Linked DNA regions of Homo sapiens: region 1 is linked to region 2. The links are contacts of gene promoters, found by promoter capture Hi-C in human tissues and cell types (Jung and others, 2019). All regions are on one chromosome and are shown on one strand. The core of a region is centred on a gene start or on the middle of the fragment in contact, and the rest is flanking DNA. Distances in the headings are between cores, read along the strand shown. Region 1 holds the start of LOC105376823 (a long non-coding RNA gene). Region 2 holds the start of RNF186 (ring finger protein 186).

Evidence for each region. The method cuts DNA at HindIII sites, captures the fragments that hold promoters and counts their contacts. A contact is called where the count stands out against the background at its distance.
Region 1: a contact is called between a fragment that was not itself captured here and the fragment with the promoter of RNF186 in region 2, in 2 of the 25 tissues and cell types used here (mesenchymal stem cells and pancreas).

Annotation. Positions count from the first base shown.
Region 1 is chr1:19,887,119-19,893,323 of GRCh38, reverse strand. It overlaps OTUD3 (OTU deubiquitinase 3), which reads right to left. Exons shown (of 8, transcript NM_015207.2): 2 at 2,791-2,939. LOC105376823 (a long non-coding RNA gene) reads left to right here and starts at 4,160. Exons shown (of 3, transcript XR_947028.3): 1 at 4,160-4,200. The HindIII fragment of the contact is 5,133 bases long and covers 1,993-6,205 here.
Region 2 is chr1:19,814,033-19,820,291 of GRCh38, reverse strand. It overlaps RNF186 (ring finger protein 186), which reads left to right and starts at 5,009. Exons shown (of 1, transcript NM_019062.2): 1 at 5,009-6,259. The coding sequence starts at 5,191. The coding sequence ends at 5,874. It overlaps RNF186-AS1 (RNF186 antisense RNA 1), which reads right to left and starts at 5,883. Exons shown (of 2, transcript NR_186008.1): 1 at 5,739-5,883; 2 at 790-1,049. RefSeq lists an enhancer at 3,017-3,548. The HindIII fragment of the contact is 3,016 bases long and covers 2,791-5,806 here.

The DNA of each region.
Region 1 (6,205 bases), core at 3,310-5,809, 73 kb before region 2:
ATGACAGCTTTCAGTGAGTTCTGTGAGTCCTACTACCATATTATGGAACCTAAGGGAGGTTCTGGGAGACCCCAACTTGTAGATGGTACCAAAAGTTGAGGGAAGTCATGCAAGGACTGTGTTCTCGAACCCTGCAGTTTGGCTAACTCCAGGTGGTGAACATAAGCCAACGTGGAATTGAGGAGCGGGAGGTAAGGTGTATCAGAGGAGCTTCTCAACTGAGACAACTAAGCTAATACCCAAAGGACAAGGAAGAGTTAAGACAGGAGAAATGGATGATGTTCTAAGAAGAGGAGAGACAGACACGAGAGAGAGAGAGAACTCTAATATGGCAGGAACTGAGAATGCTGAGATGGAGAGGTGGAGGAAGTGAGAAAATGTTGGGGGGAATGGCAAGAGATGAGGACAGAGAAATGAGAAAATCCCAGATCATGAAGAACTAAAAAGTCTGGGCTCTATCCTGAGGTCAATAGATGAGTCATCAACAGCTTTTATACAGAGGAAAAACACATTTAGATCCCCCTCTGGCTGTTATGTAGAAAACAGACTGAGGAAATCAAGAGACAATGATACCGAACAGTATGGAGGAAATCTAAGCAAATGGCCACAGAGGTCTGATTTTACGGGGTAGTAGCAGTGAAAGAAAAACTGCTGAGGTAGAGTGATAACATGTAATGAACGGGTAAGAGAAGGGAGGAAGATAAGCATTAAGAATACTCAGGTTCTGACCTGGATACTTGTACAGTTGGGGGAAAGATGTTGCTGATTCTCTGAAGCCACAGTCTAAAAGAAAAGAATAATCCTAAAGATACAGCCAGATGCAAGGGTGACCAGGTCCTTAATAGTATAGTGAACCATTCATTTATTCACTTTATGAATGTCTACCAGATGCCGGGCACTGCCACACCGCAAAACAAAGACACACAGTCCCTGCCCTTGAGAATCTCACAGTACAACAAGGTAGGCAGCACACTGACATTAAAAACAGGTAACTATGACTCAAGACTCACCAATGTAACAAGCCAAGCCTTCAACTGACACACAAAGAGAATGTGCAGACTTCCAGGTTTCTTTTCATTTCTGCTCTGGCCGTCAAAGTGACTTCTTACTTCTGTGATGCTCAAATTCTTAAGCAGCTCCAAGCAACAGGCATGCATAGTGACATTTCAAGAAAACACCTTTCCACTGTTCATCTCAAGTGACTATCACATTGGCAACCGAAGATTTGAGTTCCCTATCCTGTAACACCCCAAAATCCACCATGTGATCTTCACTGACAGTGTTCAAAGTGGAGTTTCACATCACAAACTAAAAACCCGTTTCATCCAAAATGATGTTTTCATTGGATTAATGACACAATTCATTTCGTACAGCACTAAACTACAAAATTTGTCCCATATACAAACATTTAATTTGTAAACTGCTGACTATCCAGTAAACTATGCATATCTGCTAGCCAAAAAGTAATCCCAGGAAGAGGGACCATCTGAACTCAGTGATTGGTACAAACCACCCATTGGAAGTTTTGTTGCTCTGTGTCTGGTGCCTACTGAGTAAGTTCTTTCCTAGTAAGGAATGGGAAACACTTTGGGATCACTGATACCTTTTCTCCCAAATGTCCCCCTCCTGCTGCCCTCTCTCTTGCTAACGGTACAGCCAATTACCCATTCCCTAAGCAGAAACTTCAGAATCACTCTTGTCTCCTCCCTCTCCCCTCCTCACCTCCAATGTGTCCTGTCAATTATACTGCCAAAGTGTGGCTTGGTTTGGGCCTTACTCATTATCCTCAGTAGCTACCTTGATGGAGACCTCCTCTACTCTCATCTGGCCAGTGTGGAGACCTTCTAACTAGTCTCCTTTATCAGTCTCTCTCCCCATCCATTCTTGGCATGGCCTCCAGACTTAGCTCTCTAAAACAAAGGATCAATTCTCTTTCCTGATAACAGACAGAAAAGACTATAAGCCCTGTGATGAAAATGCCATTTGTAAGACATATCAGCAGCAAGCACAGTAGATCCTCAGTAAATATTTGTTGAAATTAAAGTTTACAAGTTCATATGCATTTTCTATAAGATCTATGCCTATTAAATAGGAACCAATTAAAATCACTAACTGACTTGCCTCAAAGAAAACAGATTGTGTTTGGGGTTTGGGTGAGAAATTAACATGATTTTATTGGTTTTTCTAATTTTAAAAGTAATACATGATCATCTAAAAGTCAGAAAAAGTCTATAAAAGATAATTTAAAATACCATAGTCCCATCATCCCCAGATGGCTAACGCTTACTAAGGGCTTATTTTAATTTTGTTATCTAATTTAATCTTCACCAAAAACCCTGTGAGATAGATGCTATTATTATCTCCCTTCTATAGAAGTTTAAAGAGAATGAGTAATTTCTGAAAAATAAGTGAAGCTAAGAATTAACAAACAAAATGTTAGTATCTTTCCAGACTTTTCCTACTGTGTCTGTATACCTTTTAAAAATAGGATCAACCTATACAAGCTATGTTATAGCCTGCTTTTCCCACCCCACAGAGTAAGAAGTCATGAATCGCTTTTCAGGTCAATTAATACCATCATGTTTATTAAGGGCATATACAGCTAAACCTACTGATCCCCAACTACCTAGCATACTGCCGATAACCAAGTAGGCAAACAAATATTTCTTGAATAAATGAATGTCGTGATTTATATAACCAAACCCTTGGCTGGGAGGGGGGAGGATGCCAGTGGACTTAATTACCCAATGCATTACTCCTGAAGGACACAATGTCCCACAGTGAACCTACCATGCTTCTCAAAAGGAATGTCATCTTCTACAAAGGGTTCAAAATCTTCCCGCTGCTTTATCATGTAGTCCACTGTCTCCTGTCTGTGCTTGAGATGATTTCGTGAGTGTCCCTCCAATTGATCACCAAGAGCTCTGAACAAGCAATTGCTGTCAAAACAACAACACGAGTCAAGACCTTTCAAAAATGAACTTAGTTCGTCTAAAACAATGATGCTTCATGCCAGATCATCCATGGAAATATTTTGTGCACACAGAGGTAAAGACTCAACTCTAATAGTCCAGGATTCTTCCAAGACCACGGGGGACAGCATGAGGGCATATTCAACCATATTACCTTCTTGAGAGGCAGCAAACAAGGATTCTATTCCCCATGTACCAGCTGGCTGACTCAGGAGAGTCATCAAACTTCCCTGGGCCTCAGCTGCTTCAACAAGTGGAGCCGGTGATACACTAACCACCTTACTACAAGGTCCAGACCTTATAGGCCATTCCATGCCTAAGGGCTATGATTTACAGATCCTCTTCCAAAATCATGTCCTATCTACAGCCTCTTTTCTAAAACAAGTTCCACTACAGCTACCCAGCTAAGTAATCATTCATTTAACAAATAGTACCCAAAAAATAGCAATTTGTCAAGCTGCCAATACTAACAACTGAACAATACTCTGTTTGAGTCCTAAGAACATAGTGGAGAAAGTCATGAGAAGGAAAGCACTTGGACAACAAACAGTTGTACTATGGAAAGACACTTCCTCCTTGCCTCCTCACTTAGCACCCAGGGAGCAACAATGCCATTGTTATTCCTGCCAAATGAAAACTTTAAACACCACATTTTGTTTCTCTAAAATTAAAATACTGGTAATAAACTGTAAGAGTTATCTTTACTTTCAAACCCCTCAAAGGCTTCTAAATTCCGAACTATCACAAACACAGAGGCTTAGATACACAGAGACTCAAACAAGACAAACACAATCTGGTATCCTTAAAACTACAGAAATAAACAATTCTGAAGCCAAACAGTTGTCCAGTTTTACACCCAACTGTTTACTCTTCCAAATGAAAAACTATGATACTGTAATTCCAAAGTATAAACTCATCACTTTCAGAAAGATTTCATGTCTAAATGTGTAGGAAAAAAGGGGGTTTTGTTTTTCAACTCAGAAAAGTGAATTTTCAACAGAAAGCTATAGAAAGGCTGGAATCTCTTCTAATGTATAAGAATATATACTTTTTTTTTTTTTGCAGGGGAGGGGAGAATTAAGACAGCTTCTATAAATTAAAAACCAAGAAGCTTTCCAACAATCTAAGACAAGATTCTAGAAGGAGTGGAATATAGAGTTCTGTAGGCTAGACTGAGGTGTCTTGCTAAAATCTGACAATGGCAGTCTTTTTTCAACCATGGAGAAAAGTAAGTTAATCGATAAAACAATTTAAATGTCAAGCTTTTCCCTCAAACTTTTCTTAATCAGCATCTGCCACCACTAGCCTATTCTTGAATTTAGTTTAAGAGATGTGATTTATCACAAATTTATGTAGTTATTTTACATTTAATGTACCAAAATTCATGGTATTCTACAGTTACATGTTTGCTAGGAACTTTTAATAACATGAGCAAATGTTCTCCAAAAAAGTAGGTGTAGAACTGTATATGCCACATGAACTCAACCAAGTTCATCTGTACACTATACACATACACAGACACAGAAACACACACAAACGTATGCCAAGAAAACACACAGAAACAACCACTTAAATAGTTCTTACAATGTGCCAGGGACTGTCCTAAACACTTTATATGTATTAAACATGTTGTGTCTCACAACTCTGAGATAGGTCCTATTACCATCCCTCAGGGGAAACCTGCCCAAGGTCACAAAACTAGTAAGTGGTAGGCCCAGGATCCAAGTCCAAATAACGTGGCTCTCGCTCGAATGTCAACACCAAAATGATAGCCATAGTTACCCCTAGGCAGCAGAATTAAAAATAATATTTAAGAGTTTTAATTGTTACATTTTTTAATATGCTTTTCATTACTTACCAAACTTTCTTTGAGCTCACCCAAAACAAGCCAAAATAGACAAATCACTTCCTTTTCTGACAGGATTACAAGGTAATGAACAAACACTCCAGTGACCTGGGTTTCCTTAGGTGAGCCCAATAAGAGCACTCAAGAAACTCATGAGAACAAAGCACCGCTGCCCAAAGGGCCTCTAGGAGATCTGGGCCACTTCCTGAGTTCACACTCTCACCATTACCTATAGCAGGGCTTCTCAATCTCCACATTATTGACATTCCAGGATCATTTTTTTGTTGTGGGAGGCTGTCCTGTGCACTGTAGGAAGTTTAGGAGAATACTTGGCCTCTGCCATTAGCTGTCAGTAGCACATCACTACCTCCCTCCCCATCAGTTGTGACAACCAAAGATGTCTCTAGACATTGCCAAATGTCCCCTGGAGGGCAAAATCATCCCTGCTTGAGAACCACTGTGTTATAGGGATATATGGCAGGTCTCGCATTTGAGTTCACAAAAACAACCAATTACATAAAGAGCACGCAAATGTTTTGAGTGCGCAATAATTTACTATTAGACAATATTGCAACACACGCACCAAAAAACCTAACGTGCTCTCTAGACTGCAGTAATAATAGTAAATGTGCAGAAAAAGGAAAAGGTTTTATTATTTGGGGTCAGACCAGATAGGGTACTGGGTACCATTCTAGTTACTGTATTTTAAGAGAGACGTATTCAGATAAATGATGTGGCTTTAATACAATATGAAGAACTACTAGTGATGTTTGGCCTAAAGAAGGCTCAGGGGGACGTGATCAATACCTCCAACTGTCATGTGAAATTAAAATTATACCTGTATAATAAAACGAAAACCTGGAAGCCACAGAGACATAGATTTTGGCAAATAAAAGGTAATTTCACCTTAGCTCTACGGAGGTAGACTATATAGACTCAGGATTCTGCCAATTTCTATAACTAGCAATTCACAGCAATTGTCTAGATGTGTGTTGTTTAATAGTGGTTGCTAACCGCATGTGACTACTGAGCATCTGATGTGGCTAATCCACAGTGAGGTGTGCTATCAGTGTAAAATACTAGATTCTGAAGCGGTCATATAAGAAAATATGAGAGATCATCAGCCGGGTGCGGTGGCTCATGCCTGTAATCCCAGCACTTTGGGAAGCCAAGGCAGGCGGATCACCTGAGGTCAGCAGTTTGAAACCAGCCTGACCAACACGGAGATACCCCGTCTCTACTAAAAATACAAAATTAGCCAGGTATGGTGGCGCATGCCTGTAATCCCAGCTACACAGGAGGCCGAGGCAGGAGAATCGCTTGAACCTGGGAGGCAGAGGTTCCAGTGAGCCAAGATCGTGCCATTGCACTCCAGCCTGGGCAACAA
Region 2 (6,259 bases), core at 3,760-6,259:
TCAGAGCTCTAGCCCAGTGAGTGCCCTCCATCTCAAAAAAAAAAAAAAAAAAGACAGTGTAGTTTTCCAACTTCCTGCAGTTTGTGCCCGAGGCATTCACTATCTCTGTTACATTGTCTTTCTCTCTATACAGTCATAATTTTCTCATTATTGTTATTTTGGTTCCAGATCCCTTTCTTCTGTCTCCTTGGCAATCTATCCTCAGACACGCAGATTCTTGGTGAGGGGTGGGGGTGGGGGTGGGGGGCTGAAAATAGGGATGGAGCCTGCCATGCTCTAAGGAGCACAGAGGCGAGAATTCTGGGACAAGAGTGTGAGCTGAGATGGTTTCCATTCAGCCCAAGGCAAGGAGGAGTGGAGAGCAACTCGGCGTTTGGCTGGGACCTGGCTCCCTGTGTTCACTGGAGTGTGGGGTGAGGGTCAGCTGATCAGGACAGAGGCCAAAGATGAGTGGACAGTTTGATCTCAGAACAGTGCTGCCACCTGACTCCTTTCTGACTTGACGGGAGGCCTAAAATTCAGATCAGACATGTTTTTGCAAAGGTACATGGGTGTGTGGTTCCTTGCACATGTGATTTCCAACATGATCTTCCTCAACTGGACTGGCTCCGGCTCCCCAGCCTGCAGCTAGGCTTGAAATTTCACCCCAACATGAGACTGTGTTTCTCACGATGGAGTGCGTATGACCCCAGGGCTGTGAGAAGCCATAAGATGGAAGAAACTGCATTTCAAATGAAAAAAGAAAAAAAAGCTTTACTCAAGATTAATGAGTTCATATTTGTACAGCAATTAAAACAAACAAATATGTTTTATTTGGAGATTTGGAAGGATTCGTGCATGCTTCGGGATTCTAATGTTGCAGTAAGCACAAATAGAACATGGAGAAGAATGTGAAACCTAGATGAATTTAACATTTTAAGTCTCCGGAGACACTTTTGAATTCCCCTGGGGTAGATCTGCTTCAGGCTCCACCTCAGACTCTGCCCATATTCACTCCTCTTCAAGAAGCATTGGCCGAATCAGTCACCAAAGTGTCTTATCTCATGTCCCTGGAAGAGATCAATTTCACCTAGGTCAGTTACAACCCAAAGTACATAAATTACTAAGCCTCCTGTGAGCAGGTTGTAGTCAGGGGTGGAGGGCTTAAATAATCCATAATTTCCTCAAGTGTTAACGTCTCCATTTTGTTTTATTTTATTTTATTTACTTTTTTTTAAATACAGAGTGTCACTCTGTCACCCAGGCTGGAGTGCAGTGGCACGATCTTGGCTCACGCAACTGCGACCTCCCAGGCTCAAGCTATCCTCCTGCCTCGGCCTCCCAAGTAGCTGGGGCTACAGGTATGCACCACCAGGCCCAGCTATTTTTTGTATTTTTAGTAGAGATAGGGTTGCACCTCATTGCCCAGGCCGGTCTCGAACTCCTGAGCTCAAGCGATCCACCCACCTCTGCTTCCCAAAGTGCTGGGATTACAGGCTTGAGTCACTGTGCCCGGCCTCCATTTTATCAAATTTTAAAACTGAACTGCAGTGAAGTTAAAATTCTTGCCCAAGGTCACATAGCTGGTAAAGTGACAGGAGCCAGATTTCCAGCTATAGTCAGTGCTGGTGATAGTTAAGGCAAGGCACTTTTGAGAAACAAAGTTGTTCCTAAGCCAAGATGGTAGGAGGAGGACAACAGGAAGGAATGCTCTGTTAACAGTGGTCATTTCTCAGGGGTTGCAGTAAGATGAACTTTCACATTCTACTTTATTTCTGTAATACTTGGGTTGTTCCAGCCAATATGTTTTCTTAACGGTGGTTGCCCAATGATGTTAAAAGGTTATTTTTTAGGCTCTAACCCCAAATAACTTCCCTTGGTCTGATTTCAACCTCACTCAGCTACCTTCTGACAATTTGATTTCCCATTAAGCTGGCTAGAGAGAGAGGCACTGGCCGGCTGGGTGAAGCGGCTCATGCCTGTAATCCTAGCATTTTGGGAGGCTGAGGCAGGTGAATCACCTGAGGTCAGGAGTTTGAGACCGATCTGGCCAACATAGTGAAAGCCCATCTCCACTAAAAATACAATATTAGCCGGGTGTGGTGGCACACGCCTGTAGTCCCAGCTACTCAGGAGGCTGAGACAAGAGAATCGCTTGAGCCCGGGAGGCAGAGGTCGCACTCCAGCCTGGGCAAGACAGAGCGAGACTCTATCTCAAAAAAAAGTGAGAGGGACACTGGCCAAGCCAACATCACTGTGTGGCCCACCTGATTTTCTATTCTTATTATAAATGAATGTGGCTCAACACATTTTTCTCCTCTCATCCCTAATCCATCCTAGGGTCTCACAAACAGAAAATAACATTATGCAATGCAAGTCCAAGCAGAGAAAACACAGAATCTCTTCTAGCATGGTAACACACAGGCATTCGGTCACTCTTGTCCGTGTACAAAGTCTGGTTGTCTCATCAATGCCTGACCCTTTGTCAGAGAGCAAGTAAAGGCTTCTTTTCTTCATCCATTGCTGTGTTACATAGAGGTCTTTCACTTGCAAGGGACAGAAGTTCAATTTGAACTGACTTAAGAATAAAAATCAGGGTAGATTTTATAGGTTAATATCCTTGAAAAAATCCAATGCTAGGTGTCCTGCTTCAGGTGTTCAAATAACATCATCAGGCCTTTGTCTGATTCTTTTCTCATTTTTCTTTTGTGCTGACCTTACTCTTGAGCAGGTTCTCTGCACACTGTGGTCCTGGCAGCCCCAGGGTTCCATCCTCTAACTTAGAAACCCAGCACAAAGAGAAACTTCTCAAGGGCTCCAACAGAAGTCTCAGAATTGAATCTCATTGGCTTGGCTTCGATTATATGCCTACGCTCAAACCAATGGCTGCAGCTAGCAGAGCAGAGCATGCTAACTGGCCTGTCCTGAATTGTATCAGGGCCCCACTTCCAGAGAGCTGGAGCCAGACATCACCCTCTCCGTGAGCACAGAATGACGGTGGGAAGCAGTGGTTGCCCAAAGTGAAAACAGAGAACTGTTACCCAAAAAAGGGGAAAGAATGCTAGGCATGGGGGAAAAAACATGCCTAGATCCAAGGCCACCTTCAGCTTGATCTGGGGGAAAACGTGATATAGATGTGTATCTATACCTTAGTATCTGAGACAGGTCTCAGTTAATTTAGAAAGTTTATTTTGCCAAGGTTGAGGACACATGTCCGTGACACAGCCTCAGGAGGTCCTGATGACATGTGCCCAAGGTGGACAGAGCACAGCTTGGTTTTATACGTTTTAGAGGGACATGAGACATCAATCAACATATGTAAAATGAACATTGGTTCCATCTGAAAAGGTGGAGCAACTTGAAGCAAAGGCAGGAAGACCTGAAGTGGGGAAGGGGCTTCCAGGTCACAGGTGGATAAGAATGGTTACATTCTTTTGAGTTTCTGATTAGCATCTCCAAAGGAGGCAATCAGATATGCATTTGTCTCAGTGAGCAGAGAGGTGACTTTGAATAGAATGGGAGGCAGGCTGGCCCTAAGCAGTTTCCAGCTTGACTTTCCCTTGTGGCTTAGTGATTTTGGGGCCCCACGATTTATTTTCCTTTCACAGAGGTAACTGATGGTCTAGCTACAGGTTGAGAAGAAATGGGATGGGATGGTGAGAGTATTGGATTTCAGAGATAGAGGGCCCAGGGGGAGTGGGGAGGTGGGAGTTACCGATCCCACAAGGGAGGGAGCCCCTTTGGGGCTGGTGACTCCAGGACACAGAGGGTGGCCTGCAGTGCCAGCTACTGGGGTAAGGGAAAGAGCTGAATCAGAGGCACAGGACTCTGTGTGGCCCTTGGCAGGTGACATGAGCACCAAAGGATCCTTCACACGGGCTTCTGAGTTCAGAGTGGCCTGAATGAAACATTTGTTTGAGGGAGTGCACATGCCACCCCGCCATTTGCCCTTGAGGGCAAAGTAAGGAAATCACGTTTTCCTAACTGCTGTGTTACTAATATCTGCCTGTCTCACATGAGTCCTCTTAGCCTACGCCACCCGGCTGGGGCCAGTTGTGTCCAAATGAACCAATGAAATTGATTCAACCAGACCTTGGACGCTGGTAGATTCCACAAGGTCCTGCTCCATGGAAGGCCCCTTGGCAGGCAGCCAGCAGCCTACCCTGACCACACCCTGCCCTTGTTTCCCAGCCTTCCCTACAAGGCTGTATCAGGGTTCCGGGAAATGGGGGCTGGGGACCCCGGGCACAGGGCTTGGCTTAGAGTAGGCCCAAATAAATGGCAGCTGTTCTTAGTACTACTGGATACGCAGCATGCCTAGCACAAAACAGGACACCTGTGATTAGGCATGTGAAGTGTGCAGCAGGGCACCGATGGGAAGTTCATACACCCGTAACTGTGAATACAACAGCTGTGGCTCTAAGGAAATGAATACAGTAGCAGGTGCCAAACACCTGTGCGCTGTATGTGGTTTTGTTTTTCTGCGTTGGGTTGGGCTTTGTCCTCCTTCCACTCACTTTTCTTACCTCTCCCCTCCTCTTTCCAAGGCCACCTGCCTGTAAATGTGCTCCAAGTGCAAACAAACTTTTTTCCACTCATCCTGACATCCAAAAGTTTGTGTCTGAGAAAGCAGTGTCCACCAATCCACCTATGTCCGACTCATAGGGCTGTCTGTTTATTGTGCAGATTTGTAGATGCCAGTGAGCCAAGATCGGGCCACTGCACTCCAACCTGAGAGAACGAGACTCCGTCTCAAAAAAAAAAAAAAAAGTTAAATAAAAAAAATTAATAAAAGGTTCAGGGACCTGGGAAGTGGGGGTGAGAGAGTTGGATTCTGCTGCCTCCTAAAGCTTGAGCCACAGTTCTGTGGGCACCCACCAGGTACCTGGCCCCAACAGGAAAGTCCTGATTCACTAGACCCTTGCCCACTTTGCCCTCCTATCAGGCAATTCAAAGTCTCCAGACCCGCAAGTTACTGATTAACCCTAGGTTTTGAGAAAATAAATAATAATAACTGAAGGGACGACGTAAGCCAAGAAACAAGCTGGGCAGCTCTGGGAGAGAGGAGTGTCAGACAGCTGTTGTCAACAGGCACCTGGCCAGAGTGAAAAGGAGGGGCAGATTCCATCCAAGTCCCAGCGGCGCCAGCTGACACTCTCTGCCAATGCCCAGGTGCTGAGCGACAGTGTCCCACCGGTCCCTGTGCCCAGAATGGCCTGCACCAAGACCCTGCAACAGTCCCAGCCCATCTCCGCAGGAGCCACCACAACCACCACCGCTGTGGCCCCTGCTGGGGGTCATTCTGGCTCCACAGAATGTGACCTGGAGTGTCTGGTGTGCCGGGAGCCCTACAGCTGTCCCCGGTTGCCCAAGCTGCTGGCCTGCCAGCATGCCTTCTGCGCCATCTGCCTGAAGCTCCTGCTGTGCGTGCAGGACAACACCTGGTCCATCACCTGCCCGCTGTGCCGCAAGGTCACCGCCGTCCCCGGGGGCCTCATCTGCAGCCTGCGCGACCATGAGGCGGTGGTGGGGCAGCTGGCCCAGCCATGCACAGAGGTATCGCTCTGTCCTCAGGGGCTGGTGGATCCTGCTGACTTGGCAGCAGGACACCCCAGCTTGGTGGGAGAGGATGGACAGGATGAAGTAAGTGCAAACCACGTGGCAGCCCGGCGCCTGGCCGCGCACCTACTCCTGCTGGCCTTGCTCATTATCCTCATCGGGCCCTTCATCTACCCGGGTGTCTTACGATGGGTGCTCACCTTCATCATCGCCCTGGCCCTGCTGATGTCCACCCTCTTCTGCTGTCTCCCCAGCACCCGGGGCAGCTGCTGGCCCTCCTCCAGGACTCTCTTCTGCAGAGAGCAGAAACACAGCCACATCTCTTCCATTGCCTGAGTGCCCTCTGATGAGGCTATCCCTGCAGCCCTTTCTGCCCTTGGGCCCCCGGACTTCCACAATGAACAGGGTAAGGGGTTACGGACTAAGACTGGCTCCTTTGGGAAATCACATGCCAGCGGGACTTGCAAGCCACAACCGAGATGGCCAGCCTGGGTCAAGAATTACACGCTTGGATGACAGGCTTGCACTTGCCCTTGGGATAGCATAGCTAAAACTGTTGGTGGCTAGGGGAGCAGACACAAACTACTTGAACATGACAAGATGGGGGAAGCTCCTGTTCCTCTTATTCCAATGTTCTTGGTTTTTCTTTATATAACTTGATGAAAGTATTGCAGTATTGATGCCATTGTAGAATAGAACTGGAATTCCATTCTTTTTGCAA